Regions from separate parts of the Homo sapiens genome. Here region 1 is linked to region 2. Evidence: promoter capture Hi-C in 16 types of primary human blood cells and fetal thymus (Javierre and others, 2016). All regions are on one chromosome and are shown on one strand. The core of a region is centred on a gene start or on the middle of the fragment in contact, and the rest is flanking DNA. Distances in the headings are between cores, read along the strand shown.

Region 1 (7,178 bases), core at 1,418-3,917, 1.5 Mb before region 2:
GGCAGATAAATCCATGAAGATAAGAAAAAAAAAACAAAAAACATGCTGAAAATTTAAGGAACCAGAATACCTCATCTTCTCCAAATGATTGAAATTCCTCTCCAGCAAGGGCAGAAAACTGGATGGGGAATGAGTTTCATGAGTTGATAGAAGTAGACTTCAGAAGGTGGGTAATAAAAAACTCCTCTGAATTAAAGGAACATGTGCTAACCCAATGCAAGAAAGCTAAGAACCTTTATAAAAGGTGACAGAAATTGCTAACTAGAATACCCAGTTTAGAGAAGAATATAAATGACCTGAAGGAGCTGAAAAACAGTGCTAAAACCTTTGTGAAGCATACACAAGTATCAATATCCAGATTAATCAGGTGGAAGAAAGGATATTAGAGGTTGAAGAAGAGCTTACTGAAATAAAACATGAAGACAAGGTTAGAGAAAAGAAAAGGAATGTGAAGTAGAAAATTAAAAGAAAATTAAAGCTTGCTTAAAAATTGTTGTTAGAGTTAGGATGGAATAGGCCTCAAATAGCCCCCTTCCAAAGTACGAGTTAAGAAAGAATACTAACTACTTCTCTGTGAAATATTAACCATATCTACCCTCTGCATATTTTGTAAGTTCTCTAAGTTTCTGTTTTACTGCTGAACAGCTGAAAGGTCACAAGATAGATAACCACTAGCTGTAAAACATGTTTTATCAAAGATGTAAGACGTGTCACAGATGATTAACTGCTTTTGTTCTCGCTTCTGTAAGCCTGCTTCCTGCCTCATGTACTGCCTGCCTTAAGATGCATAAAAGGCCGGGAGCAGTGGCTCATGCCTATAATCCCAGCACTTTGAGAGGCCGAGGCAGGCAGATCACGAGGTCAGGAGATCAAGACCATCCTGGCTAACAAGGTGAAACCCCGTCTCTACTAAAAATACAAAAACTTAGCCAGGCATGGTGGCAGGCACCTGTAGTCCCAGCCACTCAGGAGGCTGAGGCAGGAGAATGGTGTGAACCCGGGAGGTGGAACTTGCAGTGAGCTGAGATCACACCACTGCACCCCAGCCAGGGTGACAGAGTGAGACTCTGCGTCAAAAAACAAAAACTGCATAAAAGATACTTGCCTTGTTTGTTTGGTGCTCAGACTTTCTGGACACTAGTCCACTGAGCCAGTGTATACCTTAAATAATAAATCGTCCTTTGACCCCATCAGTCTCTCCAGTCTCTGATTTCCTGTAACATTTTCTAGGGGCTCATCCAGGATTGGAGATGGCAAATGTTCTGTCTCCTTTGCCCATAGGACTGGAGCCCAAGAGCAGGGGATACCTGAAATCCTAGGCACTGACAGGAGAACTTCAGACTGGAGAGGAGACCAGCTCTCCTGCATCCCGGTGCCCTTCCCTAACAGCACAATGGAACTGGCAAAGGGGCTACAGGACAATTCCAGGAGCTGCGTGCATTCTTCAAAAACGTGGTAAGGCCTGAAGCCCCAAGTCAAGACCCATCCCATAAGGATGAAACGGGGGCCTAATCACTTCCCAGGGTGTGACTACTCGTCTAACACAGAGGGGCTGAGGAAAGTGGGAGTGACCTGCCAGTTTGGATGAAACTTACAACCTAACTGTCACAGCACATGAAAGAGGCTCACTAAGTCAGTTTAGGAAAATAAAAACTGAAACTAGACGTAGCAAGAATGAGTTGCCACCCTAATTAAAAAACGTGAACTGGGAGTGAAGAGGCATGTGAAAGCACATTAAAGAGACAGTTCTGGGAAGGGCCAACATGGGGCATGACAGGTGAAGGCACAGATCTCTTAATGTGGACTGTGGGCTCTGGAGCCAGTGTGTGGCTGACCAGATCTAGAGCGATCTGTATAAGGCTGACAGGAGCTGCCCTACAGCTGCAGCAGCTGCAGTGGGAATACGATACTGTCCTAGCTAAGCAGTGCATGAAATTCCCGTAATAGGAACCAGTCTGATCAGTCTGTAACAAAAGGTAGAGTGAGTGTGTGTCATAAAAGGAGGAATGGGAGGAAAATCATCAAAAGCTTCTCCATTGGAGTGCATGTTAAATAATTCTGGGAAACGCTTTGGAGGAGATTATGGGGTAAAACTGACCCCCCAAAGGTTGAGAACTCTCTGTGAATTAGACTGGCCTTCTTTTAATGTTGTGTGGCCTGCCAAAGACACAATAGATAGGGAAGAAATTGGCCATGTGTTTAAGGAAGTGACAGGGGTTGGAGAACAGCCTGGGAATCTAGATCAGTTCCCATATATTGATTCCTGGTTGAACATGGTTCTAACACATCCCAAATGGATACAACCTTATTTGACAAGTTATTGTAAGTCTCTGGTAGCCTGAGCTATACCTAAGGAAGTTGAGAAGTCTATCTCAATAGGAGCCTCAGAGGAGAAGAAAAAGCAACAGAGTAGTCAGGAAAAAACAGTCTTCCAAACGCTTTCCAAGGAAAGAAAGTTTCCTCCTTCTTATGCTCCAATACACCCATCCTTGTCAGGGCTAAGACAAGGCAGAAAGCAAATGGCCCTCGAGGAATCAGGCTCAGAGAAAAGTGAGTCTCAAGCAGCATAACCCCATGGAGGGGATCCTGAGCCCCTGCCCATAAAAACCAAAGAGGAAAGGCAGGATTAAACAGCAAGCCACTTCTGGTCAGGCTGCACCCAAGCCTTGCAAATGCTCTTCCATGAGACTCGAGCACAGACGTATTATTATGAACAAGGCCGGGTCCGGGGTGGGCAGTGAATTTTTGTCTACCAGCCTTTCTCCATCACAGACCACCTAAATGGGGAACAGCATACTCCATCCTATACAGAGAAGCCCCAGTCTGTAATAGACCTGTTGCGGTCCATTTTTCTGACTCGCAATTCTACCTGGCCAGACTGCCAGCAGCTCCTTCTGACATGGTTCAATACAAAGGAGCATCAGAGGGTGTCCAAAGAGGCCCTCCAGTGGATAGAGAACAATGCACCTGATGGCACACATGATGTCTGGTGGTATGCCCAGGAACAGTTCTCAGAGACAGACCCAAATTGGAACCCAAATGAGGCAAAAGAGCAGCTCTGCCTGCAGAGATATCAGGAAGCACTCTTAAATGGGATAAAAGCTGAAGGGAAAAAGGCAATGAACATAGGAAAAATTTCAGAGGTCCTTAAAAAGGCTGATGAGAGCCCAAGTCAGTCCTATGAGAGTCTCTGTGAGGCATACCAGCTCTATAGCCCATTTGACCCCGAGGCTACAGAGAGAATCAGTGCATGGTGAATATGTCATTTGTTAGTCAGGCACAGGCAGACATTAAACAAAAGCTTTGGGATCTTGAAGGTTTTGCAGGCATGAATGCCACCCAGCTAATAGAAGTATCCACCAAAGTATGTGTTAACCACGATCAGGAGGAAAGGAAGGAGGCTAAGCAGATGATTAAGAAAAAGGCCGAGCTACTGGTGGCAGCCGTTGTTGAAATAGAAACTAGCATTGTAAGGGGACAAGGATGTGGTCATGGTCATGGTTATGAAGAGGTCAAAGTGGCCCGGATTTGAAGGCCAGAGAAGGCTGGAGAGGGATTAGTGTGCATTACGCAAAAAGAAAGCACATTGGAAGGATGAATGTCCAGAGAAGGATAAGGGCAATATCTGTGACCAGGGAGCTTGGCCAGAGCTACCAGCTGTAAGTCATTGTGTTCTGAAACCGGATGCCAACTTGATCAGCCTGGCAGAGACTGTGGAGGACTGAGACAGACTGTTTCTCCATCTCTTTGGGCCACCAGGAGCCTATGGTCACAGTGGAGAGAGGGGACCAATGGATGGACTTTATGGTAGATACCAGAGCTAAACACTGAGTAGTTACCCAACCCATAGGGCTACTATCTAAGAATTATACCACTATTTTCAGGGGATCTGGAGTTTCAGAAAAAGGCCTTTTTGCTGGTCAAGGGGTTGCATTATTGGAGGATGAGAAGTCCACCATGAGTTTCTATACCTTACAAATTGTCAAGTTTCTTTGCTAGGGAAAAACTTGCTCCAAATACTACAGGCACACATTTCCTTTGCACCACAAGGAAATATGTATTTAAACTTACGTCAACCAAAAGCTATGGTGTTAACCCTCACACTGCCAAAAGCTGAGGAATGGAGGCTATATGCACAAGTACCACTTAAGCAAGGACTGCTAGGACCTCTTGAGAAGTATGGGCTAGTTACCAAAATACCTAGAGTATGGGCGGAAAACAATCCACCTGGATTGGCTGTAAATCAGGCACCAGTCTTAGTAGAGTTAAAACCAGGAGCCACCCTGGTATGAGTTTGTCAGTAACTGATTTTCATATAAGCCATCCAAGGTGTTCAAAAGCATATAGACTGGCTTTTCAAGAATAGAATCATAGTTAAATGCAGATAAGTTTGGACCACTCCTCTGTTGCCAGTATGAAAGCCATCTGGGGAATATGGGCCAGTGCAGGATTTGCGTGCCATAAACCAGGTCACAGAGACAATCTATCCAGTAGTGCCCAACCCATACACCTTGTTAGGACAAATACCAGCTAGTGCAGCCTGGTTTATTTTCTTCTACCTAAAGGATGCATTCTTTTGTCTCCAGCTGGTGCCAGTGAGCTGACCTATCTTTGCATTTCATTGGGGAGAAACACAGTATACTTGGACAAGGCTCCCACGAGGGTTTAAGAACTCCCCTACAATCTTTGGAGAAGTGCTAGCATCAGATCTCAGGAGCTTTCATTCCACCTAATGACAAATGCTTCTGACTGCAGTTCATAGATAACCTCCTATTTATGGTCCCCACTCAGGTGGATTGCCTTCAGGGCACTGAGAAACTCCTCCACCTTTTGTGGAAGGCCAAATATAAAGTATCCAAGAAAAAGGCACACATCTGTTCAGAAGGAGTCATATATCTAGGTTTTGAAATAAGTGAAGGGAAATGTGAGCTTGGCAGTGAGCGAAAGCGGACTGTTTGTGCAGTACCATCCCAACCACTGGGTGCCAAATAAGGGAATTCCTAGGAGCAGCAGGTTTCTGCCACATCTACATTCCAAATTTTTTACTTATGGCAAAATTGCTGTATGAAGCCACAGAGTGGGGAAAAAGAGCCCCTTCTTTGGGAAGCCAATCAGGAAAAAGCTTACAAGGGATCAAAAGGGCTTTAATCCAGGCCCTGGCCTTAGGACTGCCAGATCAGACTAAGCCTTTCTTCCTATATGTCTATGAATGGAAGGAAGTGGCTGTAGGGATCCTGACTCAAATGATGGGGTCATGGCATATACCAGCGGTGTATTTATCCAAACAGCTGGACCCTTTGGTGCTAAGCTGGCCCCCTTGCTTTAAGACATCAGCTGCTACAACCCTTTTGTCACAAGAAGCCAATAAATTGACCTTAGGACAAAAACTAATCATCAGAGTACCCCACACAGTTATCATCTTGATGGATCAAAGGGGACATTATTGGTTGTCAAACCCAAGAATTACCAGATAGATATCAAGGACTCTTATCTGAAAATCTTTATGTAATCATAGGAACTGTTATTTCTTTAAACCCAGCCACTCTGCTACCCATAAAAAGGCCAAAAGATTCCATTCCCTATCACTATTGTGTGGATGTAGTGGAGGAATTATTCTGTAGCTGAAAAGACTTAACAGACCAGCCCCTTGTTGGCCCAGATGTTGAGTACTTCATGGATGGGAGCAGTTTTATCTCAGAAGGGATCCAGTAACCTGCATATACAGTAGTAACCTGGGACTCAGTGGTAGAGGCTCAGCCTCTGCCTGCTAGGAAATCTGCTCAGAAAGCAGAGCTAACAGCTCCAACAAGAGCCCTACTGTTGGCCAGAGGAAAAGTGGTTAACAGTTATACTGACTTTAAGTATGCCTTTGTGACACTGCTTGCTCATGGGGCCATATATAAAGAAAGAGGACTTTTAACTGCAGGAAGAAAGGAGATAAAAAATAAAGAGAAAATTCTACAACTCTTAGATGCTGCGTGGGCCCCAGAAAAGGTGGCTGTCATTCACTGCAAGGGACATAAAGCATCAGAAATTTTGAAGCAAAAGCAAACAGAAAAGCAGATAAAAAGGCACAATGGGCATCAATGGCCACTTTTCCTCCTAAAGAGGGAGCCCTAGCAATGCCTCTCTTCCCAGAGATTTCCCTCCCAGAGATCCCAAGTTACACTCTAAATGAAAGGAGTTGTTTTGCTCAGGAAAATGGAAACTACACTGAGGGAGGATGATGGAAGTTCTCTGATGGGAGGCTAGCCATACCTGAGATGATGACTCCCAGATTTGTAAATCAGTTCCACCAAGGAACCCACATGGGAAGACAGCACTAGAAACCTTGCTAGGATGGCACTTTTATGTGCAAAGACTTAGCCCCATCACTTGAGCCATCTGTGAGCAATGTCTGATTTGTCCTCAAAACAACCCATGGCAGGGGCCAACCTGGCCCCCAGCAGTTCAGAAATCAGAGCTACACCTTGTGAAAATTTACTTGTAGACTTTACCAAACTGCCCCAGGCTGGGGGCCACTGGTACCTACTAGTGCTTGTTTGCACCTTTTCACTGTGGGTTGAGGTTTTCCCAAACAGGACAGAAAAGGCATGGGAAGTAACTAGAGTGCAGTTAAAAGACTGCATTCCTAGATTTGGACTGCCTGTAACTATAGGATCAGAAAATGGCCAGGCATTTGTGGCTGAGATTGTACAGCAGCTAACACAACTACTAAAAATAAAATTGAAGTGGCACACTGCCTACCACCTGCAAAGCTCAGGAAAAGTAGAGTGGATGAACCAAACACTCAAGCAACTACTGAAGAAATTCTGTCAAGAAACTCATCTCAGGTGGGATCAGGTTTTGCCCGGAGTCCTCCTCTGAGTCAGGTGCCCCACTACCAAACAAACTGGGTATTCACCTTGGGAGATTTTGTTCAGCAGACCACCCCCAGCATAACTCAGGTTAAAGGTGACCTCCATGATTTAGGGGAATTAAACTTAACCAGGCAAATAGAGGCCTTAGGTCTAGCTATGCAGAAAGTCCATGGCTGGGTACGGGAAATGATGCCTGTAAGTCTAACAGACCCAATATGCCCGCTCAAATCTGGGGACCTGGTTTGAGTTATGAAACAGAATCCAACTACTCTAGGACCCTTATGGGATGGGCCCCATGCTGTAATCTTGTCTACTTCC
Region 2 (7,490 bases), core at 1,699-4,198:
CTGGGTGATGAAATAATCTGTACAACGAACCCTATCACACAGGCTTACTTATAAAACAAACCATCATATAGTGCACATGAACCTCTGAACTTAAAAGTTAAAAAATATATGTATTACAATAAATGAAGTTAGCAAGGTGCCAGAACACAAGATCAACATACAAAAATTAATCATATTTCTGTGTATCACTAACAAACCCTTAATAGGGGAAATCTTTTAAAAATTTGATTCATAGTAGCAGAAATAGAATAAGATAATCTGAAGTAAATTAATTTCAAATATATATAATACATACTAAATACTAATATACAAAAAATACCAAAAACTATAAAACTTTGTTGCAGGAAACCAAAGAAGACCTAAATAAATTGAAATACATGCTTTGTCCATGTATAGGAAACTTAGATGGAAATATTTCCTAAATTTGTCTGTAGATTCAACATTTCTGTCTCAGTCCCAGCTTGCTTGTCTGTTGAAACCCCAGCTTGTTTCTCTGTAGAAACAGGCAAGGTAATAAAAATACAAGAAACAAATAATAGCCAAACAGTCTCGAAAAAAACAAGAAGAAAGTTGGGATTACTCACTTTTCCCAATTCAAACCTTCCACAAACTACAGCAATAAAAACAATATGGCATTAGAATATATACATACATATAAATATGGAACGAAATTGAGAGTCCAAGAATAAACCCATACATTTATGGCCAACGGAATGTTATCAAGAGTGCCAAGAACAATTAATGAAGCAATAATAATGTTTCCAACAAATTCTGGGACAACTAGATGGCAACACGCAAAAATATTGAGTTGGATCATTACTTCACAGTGTTTACACAAGTTAACTCAAAATGTATCAAAGACTTTAATGTAGAAGCTAATACTATAAAGGTCCTAGAATAGAGGAGAAGAGTACATCCTTGTGATTTTGGGTTAGACAAAATCCCCTCAGAGGCAACACTGAAAGTACAAGTGACAATAGAAAAAAGCAAACTGGATAAAGATCAAATTAAAAATCTTTCTGTTCAAAGTTTACTATTAGGAAAGAGAAAAGCCAGCTTACAGAATTATTTTTTATAAAAATCAAATATTTGATAAAAGAATCAGATAAGATTACAACTAAACAAAAAAAGACAAACCAATGTGAAAAGAGCCAAAAATTTTGAATAGACATTTCTCCAGAGAAGGTATATAAAGCATATGAACAAGCCAACAACCTTACGAAAAGATGCTCAACACTACTGTATCATTAGTAATTCAAGAAGTCCAACTCAAAACTCTATGAGATCTCATACACATTGTAATGGTCAAATCAGTAAGTCATGTAATTATAGTATTGGTGAGGACATGAAGAAACTAGAACGGTATTCCACTTTAGATGGAAATTAAATGATGAAGATGCTTTGGAAAAGAAAAGTTTAAACCTAAAGTTCCCATATAACCCACTAATTCTACTTGTAGGTGTATACACACGAGAAATGACACTAAGCATGCACACAAAAACCGGTACACAAATGCTAATAGCAACATTATAATAGCTAAAAGTAGAAATTGAAATATCTATTTACTAATGAATTCATAAAATATAAAGCTGTATTATAATGAATTATCTTGAACAGAGAAAAAAGATCTCATCATTTGAAATAATACAGGCTCTATAACTAATTTTATGAAATAGAACTCTATAACTCTAACTTTATGAAACAGAAAAAGTATGTAGATAAAACTAGGAAAAAGAAAGCAGAAAATTAAGTAACAACTTTTGAAACAGGAATATATATGTAATGTAGTATAATAAACTCATGAAGCCGATAATCTAGATGAAATGGATAAATTGTTAAAAAAAAAAACGGAAATGCCAAGAATCGTACAATACGAAACAATTGTCAAACTATCAAACTTTAAGGCACTTCTGGCAGTGCCCTTCCAAATAAAATCTACCATTTGATTTTTAAAACTTACCTTTTGCGTATTTTTCAAAAATATATGGAGAACAAAAAGATACTACAGTAGTGAACTGATTAAAAAAAAACAGAATAGCAATGTAGGGGGATTTTTGCTTAACGGGTGTAAAATATTGTAAATAAAATTATAGGAAATAAAGTGTAACATCTTGTTTTGAAATAAAACATCGCAATAAAGTATAATTTCCCTTAAAAACAGCATGATATTTCCACATCAAAAAACGGATCATTAGCAGTGTGTTTCTTTTGATTTATGGTACGTGTGTTTAGCGATGTTGAAGGTTTACTGTAATCTGTCCAGGTCTTTGTGATCATTTTAAAATTTAGGGTGCTCCTAGGTAATTTTTAAGGGATGTTTATCATGTGCAGTAAAGGTTTTATTCAAAAACATTTAGCACTTCTTTTCCCCGTCCTAAAGTCCAAGCTCGAGTTGGTAAAAAATCCAACGACAAATGTGCCCACTTGAAGTGCACTGTTAATGCAACAGTTTACAAGAACATAAATACATTGTACCGGCATCCTGCCTCCTAAACGTCTTGTGACAGGAACGTTCTCGAGCTGAGAACCCAGTGAGTCTTCAGAGAATGTTAGTAAACACTTTCACATGAACGGATATCGCCGGCGGTTTGTCCTGGCAGGAAAAAAAAAAGGTGCGTTTCTACGGACATTTCCGCAAAGGAGGAATTTTCTCCGAGAAATCCTTCGTTGATCAGCACCACAGCCTTTTACGGTCCTTCCCTGCAATACGCAGGCGTAACTTGCGCAGTGGTCCCATTTTAAAAAAGATCCGGCCATACTATTTTTATCTTGCTTTTTCGTTCTGTCGCAGTACTGTTTAATATGAGTCCAGCGACGGCTCTGTGACTGTTTTCCTCTGGTAAAATCGCTCTTGCGTCCTCAGCGTTTATCTCAGGTGCGGAAGGTCTCACAGGTTTGGAAATAGCGCCGGAAAAATCGATCCGCGGAGTGAGACGGCTCGTACCACACTGCAGGGCCCGGAGGTCAAGATGGTGGCTGTAAAACTAGGATCCCTGACGATTGGTAAGCAGCTACGGGATTAAAGTAACCTTGAAATTCTCAAGAAAATGAAATTTTCATAGGCCTTTTAGTAGGAGGAACCAGCGCGTCATTAAAGACAATGTGATTCTTATTTTACAGCTTAGCATTAAGGCCCGACATGGAACCGGGGTGTGACGAGTTCCTGCCGCCACCGGAGTGCCCGGTTTTTGAGCCTAGCTGGGCTGAATTCCAAGACCCGCTTGGCTACATTGCGAAAATAAGGCCCATAGCAGAGAAGTCTGGCATCTGCAAAATCCGCCCACCCGCGGTAAGTCTTTGAAACAAAATTTGGGAATGGGTAGCCTTTGGTTTGAACGTTGGGGCAGTTTACCACTTGGCGAGGCGTTATTTACACTCATGACCAGAAACCCTTAGCACCAAATTTCTCATTTAACTTTTCTGACCCGAACAAGCTGGCATCAGAATATTAGTATCAGATCGCCACATTCCACGGGGTTCTAAACATCTGACTGCTGTAGGGACAAAAATATAAGATTCAAATATTTCTACGTTCTGCTGTTATTAAATATAGTTTAGGCATACACAAGCTTTTATTACATTTAACCGCAAAAAAATAGCTTACTCAGAAGTACTTGATCTATGACAGAAGCAAGTTATATAAGCTTGTGTGTTAACCACTTGGACTGGTGTTTTCTTTCTTTGATATGACCTTAGATGTATGTAGCAAATATAGCAAATAATGGGAGTGATGTGGCATCCTTTGCCATCAATTAAATTTATTATTAAACGTAGACCATTTTGGGTTGCTATACTGAAAACTACTAAATGAACCTCGTAGAAGTTTGACTGAATTAAGAATGTAAACTGAAATAAGCCTGGGCTGTCGTCGTGAACAACTAACACAATATTCAGAGAAGTCAAAAAGTTTTCGCAGAGCATACAGCTTTTTTCTCATATATTGAACCAGGCTGCAACGTTATTTTTATGTGGATGTTCGCACTTCTCAGCATTTGCAATTAAACTTTTTCGTACTGCTGGGAGTGGGAAGAGATAATGGCTTAGGTTTTAAAAAGTGAAACAATTTTTTATCTGCATTACATTTATCTTCATTTTAGTAAGGACTCATAACCCAAATAGCATAGTGTTTGTTCAGATGTGCGTCATTCCTTGGAAGTCGAGTCGCTTTCTAGCCTTGGGATTATAGAGGTTTTTTTTTTTTTTTTCGTCTGTTACGAAGGACACATATCAAGGAGAGTTTTGGATTTGCAGGGTTTTTCCTTTTTTTTTTTTTTTTGCAGTTAATCTTGATTATGAAGAAGGAATCATTTGAGGCCCTTGTGTACAAAAATGGTTACCAGAAGACTTTAAAAGAGTGGGAACAAATGATTGTGGTTTTCACTATCTTCATCCTTTACTGTGCCATAGTTACCAGGTCCTTACACTTTCTTCTAGGATTGGCAGCCTCCTTTTGCAGTAGAAGTTGACAATTTCAGATTTACTCCTCGCGTCCAAAGGCTAAATGAACTGGAGGTAAGATTGGGAGGCACACTTTTTTTAAAGGAATCTGATCTTTAATCTTGCCGTTGTAGTTTCATAATAATGTAGAACTTAAGTTTTGAAATCTAATGTATTGAATTTGAACCCGAACTCCACCATTTTCCAGAATACTGATTTTGGAGAAAGTCTTCTATAAAATACATAATTTATGTCCACAAAAATGGTAGAACACAAAGGCTTTAAATATCTGAGGAAGAATGATGCATTGTTTCGCTGTTCAATAGTTTCAGGTTAGAACTATCAAAATGACAGTACCTTTCCCATTTTGTCTTCTCGTACTCACATATTTAATGAATGAATTTTTTTTTTTGAAACAGAGTCTCACCCTGTCTACCAGGCTGGAGTGCAGTGGCGGGATCTCGCCTCACTGCAACCTCCACCTTCCAGGTTCAAGGGATTCTCTTGCCTCAGCCTCTCAAGTAGCTGGGATTACAGGTGCACACCAGCAGGCTCAGCTAATTTTTGTATTTTTAGTAGAGATGGAGTTTCACCGATTTGGTCATGCTGGTCTCCAACTCCAAACGTTAGGTGATCAGCCTGCCTTGGCCTCCTAAAGTGCTGGGGTTACCGGCGTAAGCCCCTGCACCCAGTGTGACTAAATTTTTTTTAGTTCTTTAACAGAAGCAGAGTTCAGACAAGAAATAGGATCTTTTAAATATCCAGCAACAGAGTGATGGTATTACATATGTTCTGCTTTAATAAAATGTCAGAGGCAAACTTGCTCTTTAAAGCAGTCAACTCAGTCTTCACAGTTTAGTATTCAATATAGAAAGTATATGAATGATTTGTCATTTTCTTTTACTCTTAGGATTTTGACTATGATCAGTAGCTAGAAGCTGTGTATGAGTTAGAGTAAGAAAGCAGTGATTCAGAAACTGGTTTTGTGTCCAGCTCTTTTACATGAACTAGAAAAATATTTTAATTCTTTGAATTATATATCAGTACATTCTAAATGAGTGTCTTGATGATATTGAGTCTAAATACTGTTGGAGCCTACATATTTTTGGTCAAGCCACCTTTAAGTCCAAGAATAATTCCTTAAATTTAGACATGATGTTGATCCTAAGACGGCACATTCTTAGCTCTTTATAGATTAAAGACTCAGCTTATTTGAGCTTTTTGTGGACCCCGCTGGTGAGATAAGACAGTGAAGCTGGGGCTCCGGCACGTTGGTGGAGAAGTGTAGATAGCATAGAATAATACTTGTTCATTTACTGCATACTCGATGAAGTCAGGTTAAGGAGTATGCCAATCTTATAAGGCCCTCTCTTTCCCAGGCCCAAACTAGAGTGAAATTGAACTATTTGGATCAGATTGCAAAATTCTGGGAAATTCAAGGCTCCTCTTTAAAGATTCCCAATGTGGAGCGGAAGATCTTGGACCTCTACAGCCTTAGTAAGGTAAGAGTAGTCTACTTTCTAAAGGAAAAACAAAAAGCCTTGCCTCAAGGATCTTCTGTGGTAGAAACAATAGGCAGGAAAGGAAAGAACACAGAGCCTGGCAGCGTTTCTTGACGTAATCTTTGAGTCTTGCAATGATTGGTGTTGGGGGAAGGGCACAGCCCCCCATATTCAAGTCTCATTGTTGTGTTGGTAGCCCTTTCCAGTCTGTTCACAGTTCATCCATATTGTTTCTTATACTTTCAGATTGTGATTGAGGAAGGTGGCTATGAAGCCATCTGCAAGGATCGTCGGTGGGCTCGAGTTGCCCAGCGTCTCCACTACCCACCAGGCAAAAACATTGGCTCCCTGCTACGATCACATTACGAACGCATTATTTACCCCTATGAAATGTTTCAGTCTGGAGCCAACCATGTGGTGAGGGCCCTTAAACTGGTTTGTGGCCTGATGTGATTTTGTTTTCTTTTGTATTTTTTCTTTGGATTGGACTTTTCTCTTGAGTAGTCAGGGTCTATAGATTCTAAATCTCTAGAGTGAAGATGTTCCAGGAATTGGCCCTAGAAAATACTTTGCAGCCTCTTTATGTGGCATAGTTTTATTCCTGCTATACATAAGTAAGAACTAGAGTAACCTTTCTATCTTATGAGGTTGATGTTTACTAAGATCTTTTTATGGAGAAGATCTTAAACTAGAAGTTAGAGGAAACCATTTCCTATTTTAAGTATCTTACATGAAAAAGATAATCTTTTTTTTTGAAATGGAGTGTTGCTGTGTTGCCCAGGCTGGAGTGCAGTGGCAGGATCTTGGCTCACTACAAGCTCCTCCCGGGTTCACGCCATTCTTCTGCTTCAGCCTCCCAAGTAGCTGGGACTACAGGGGCCTGCCACCACGCCTGGCTAATTTTTTTGTGTTTTTAGTAGAGACATGGTTTCACCATGTTAGCTAGGATGGTCTTGATCTCCTAACCTTGTGATCTGCCTGCCTCGGCCTCCCAAAGTGCTGGGATTACAGACGGGAGCCACCATGCCTGGCTGAAAAAGATAATGGTGTTCCTAAGCTTTCATGAGGCTGGTTCACTTGAAGATAGTTTAGGTTAAAAGCTTGGTGTGACTTGGGTTTAACTCAGGGTGTGGAAACTGATTTAGCAGGGTAATTTTACATAATAAGTTAATTGTTTTTGTTTGTTTGTTTGTTTGTTTTGTTTTTGAGGCAGCTTATCACTCTGGCCAGGCGGCCTCCACCTCCTGGATTGAAGTGATTCTCCTGCCTCAGCCTCCTGAGTAGCTGGGGCTACAGGCGCGTGACTATGCCCACTCATTTTTGTATTTTTCGTAGAGATGGGGTTTCACCATGTTGGCCAGGATAGTCTCGATCCTTTGACCTCGTGATCTACCTGACTCAGCCTTCCAAAGTGTTGGGATTACAGGCATGAGCCACCACGACTGGCCAGTTTTTAGGTTTTATTATCCGTAAAACTTTAAAATATTTTATAAAAACTGTGTATTTATGTTTATAAACATGTTTCACTTAGCGTACATAATTCTAAAGATT

The links. The method cuts DNA at HindIII sites, captures the fragments that hold promoters and counts their contacts. A CHiCAGO score of 5 or more calls a contact.
Region 1: a fragment that was not itself captured here is called in contact with the fragment with the promoter of KDM5D in region 2 in 1 of 17 cell types (activated CD4 T cells); the score reaches 6.0 in activated CD4 T cells.

Annotation. Positions count from the first base shown.
Region 1 is chrY:21,243,254-21,250,431 of GRCh38, reverse strand. The region is part of intron 2 of LOC107987346 (a long non-coding RNA gene); the gene reads right to left. It overlaps LOC107987347 (a long non-coding RNA gene), which reads left to right. Exons shown (of 3, transcript XR_001756079.2): 3 at 1,282-2,367. Among named protein-coding and RNA genes, the nearest start is that of PRORY, 210 kb to the left of the region's middle. The HindIII fragment of the contact is 1,273 bases long and covers 2,031-3,303 here.
Region 2 is chrY:19,740,184-19,747,673 of GRCh38, reverse strand. KDM5D (lysine demethylase 5D) reads left to right here and starts at 2,948. Exons shown (of 27, transcript NM_004653.5): 1 at 2,948-3,003; 2 at 3,121-3,289; 3 at 4,435-4,512; 4 at 5,817-5,939; 5 at 6,186-6,356. The coding sequence starts at 3,140. It overlaps KDM5D-DT (KDM5D divergent transcript), which reads right to left and starts at 2,889. Exons shown (of 3, transcript XR_938630.4): 1 at 1,961-2,889. The HindIII fragment of the contact is 5,320 bases long and covers 1-3,571 here.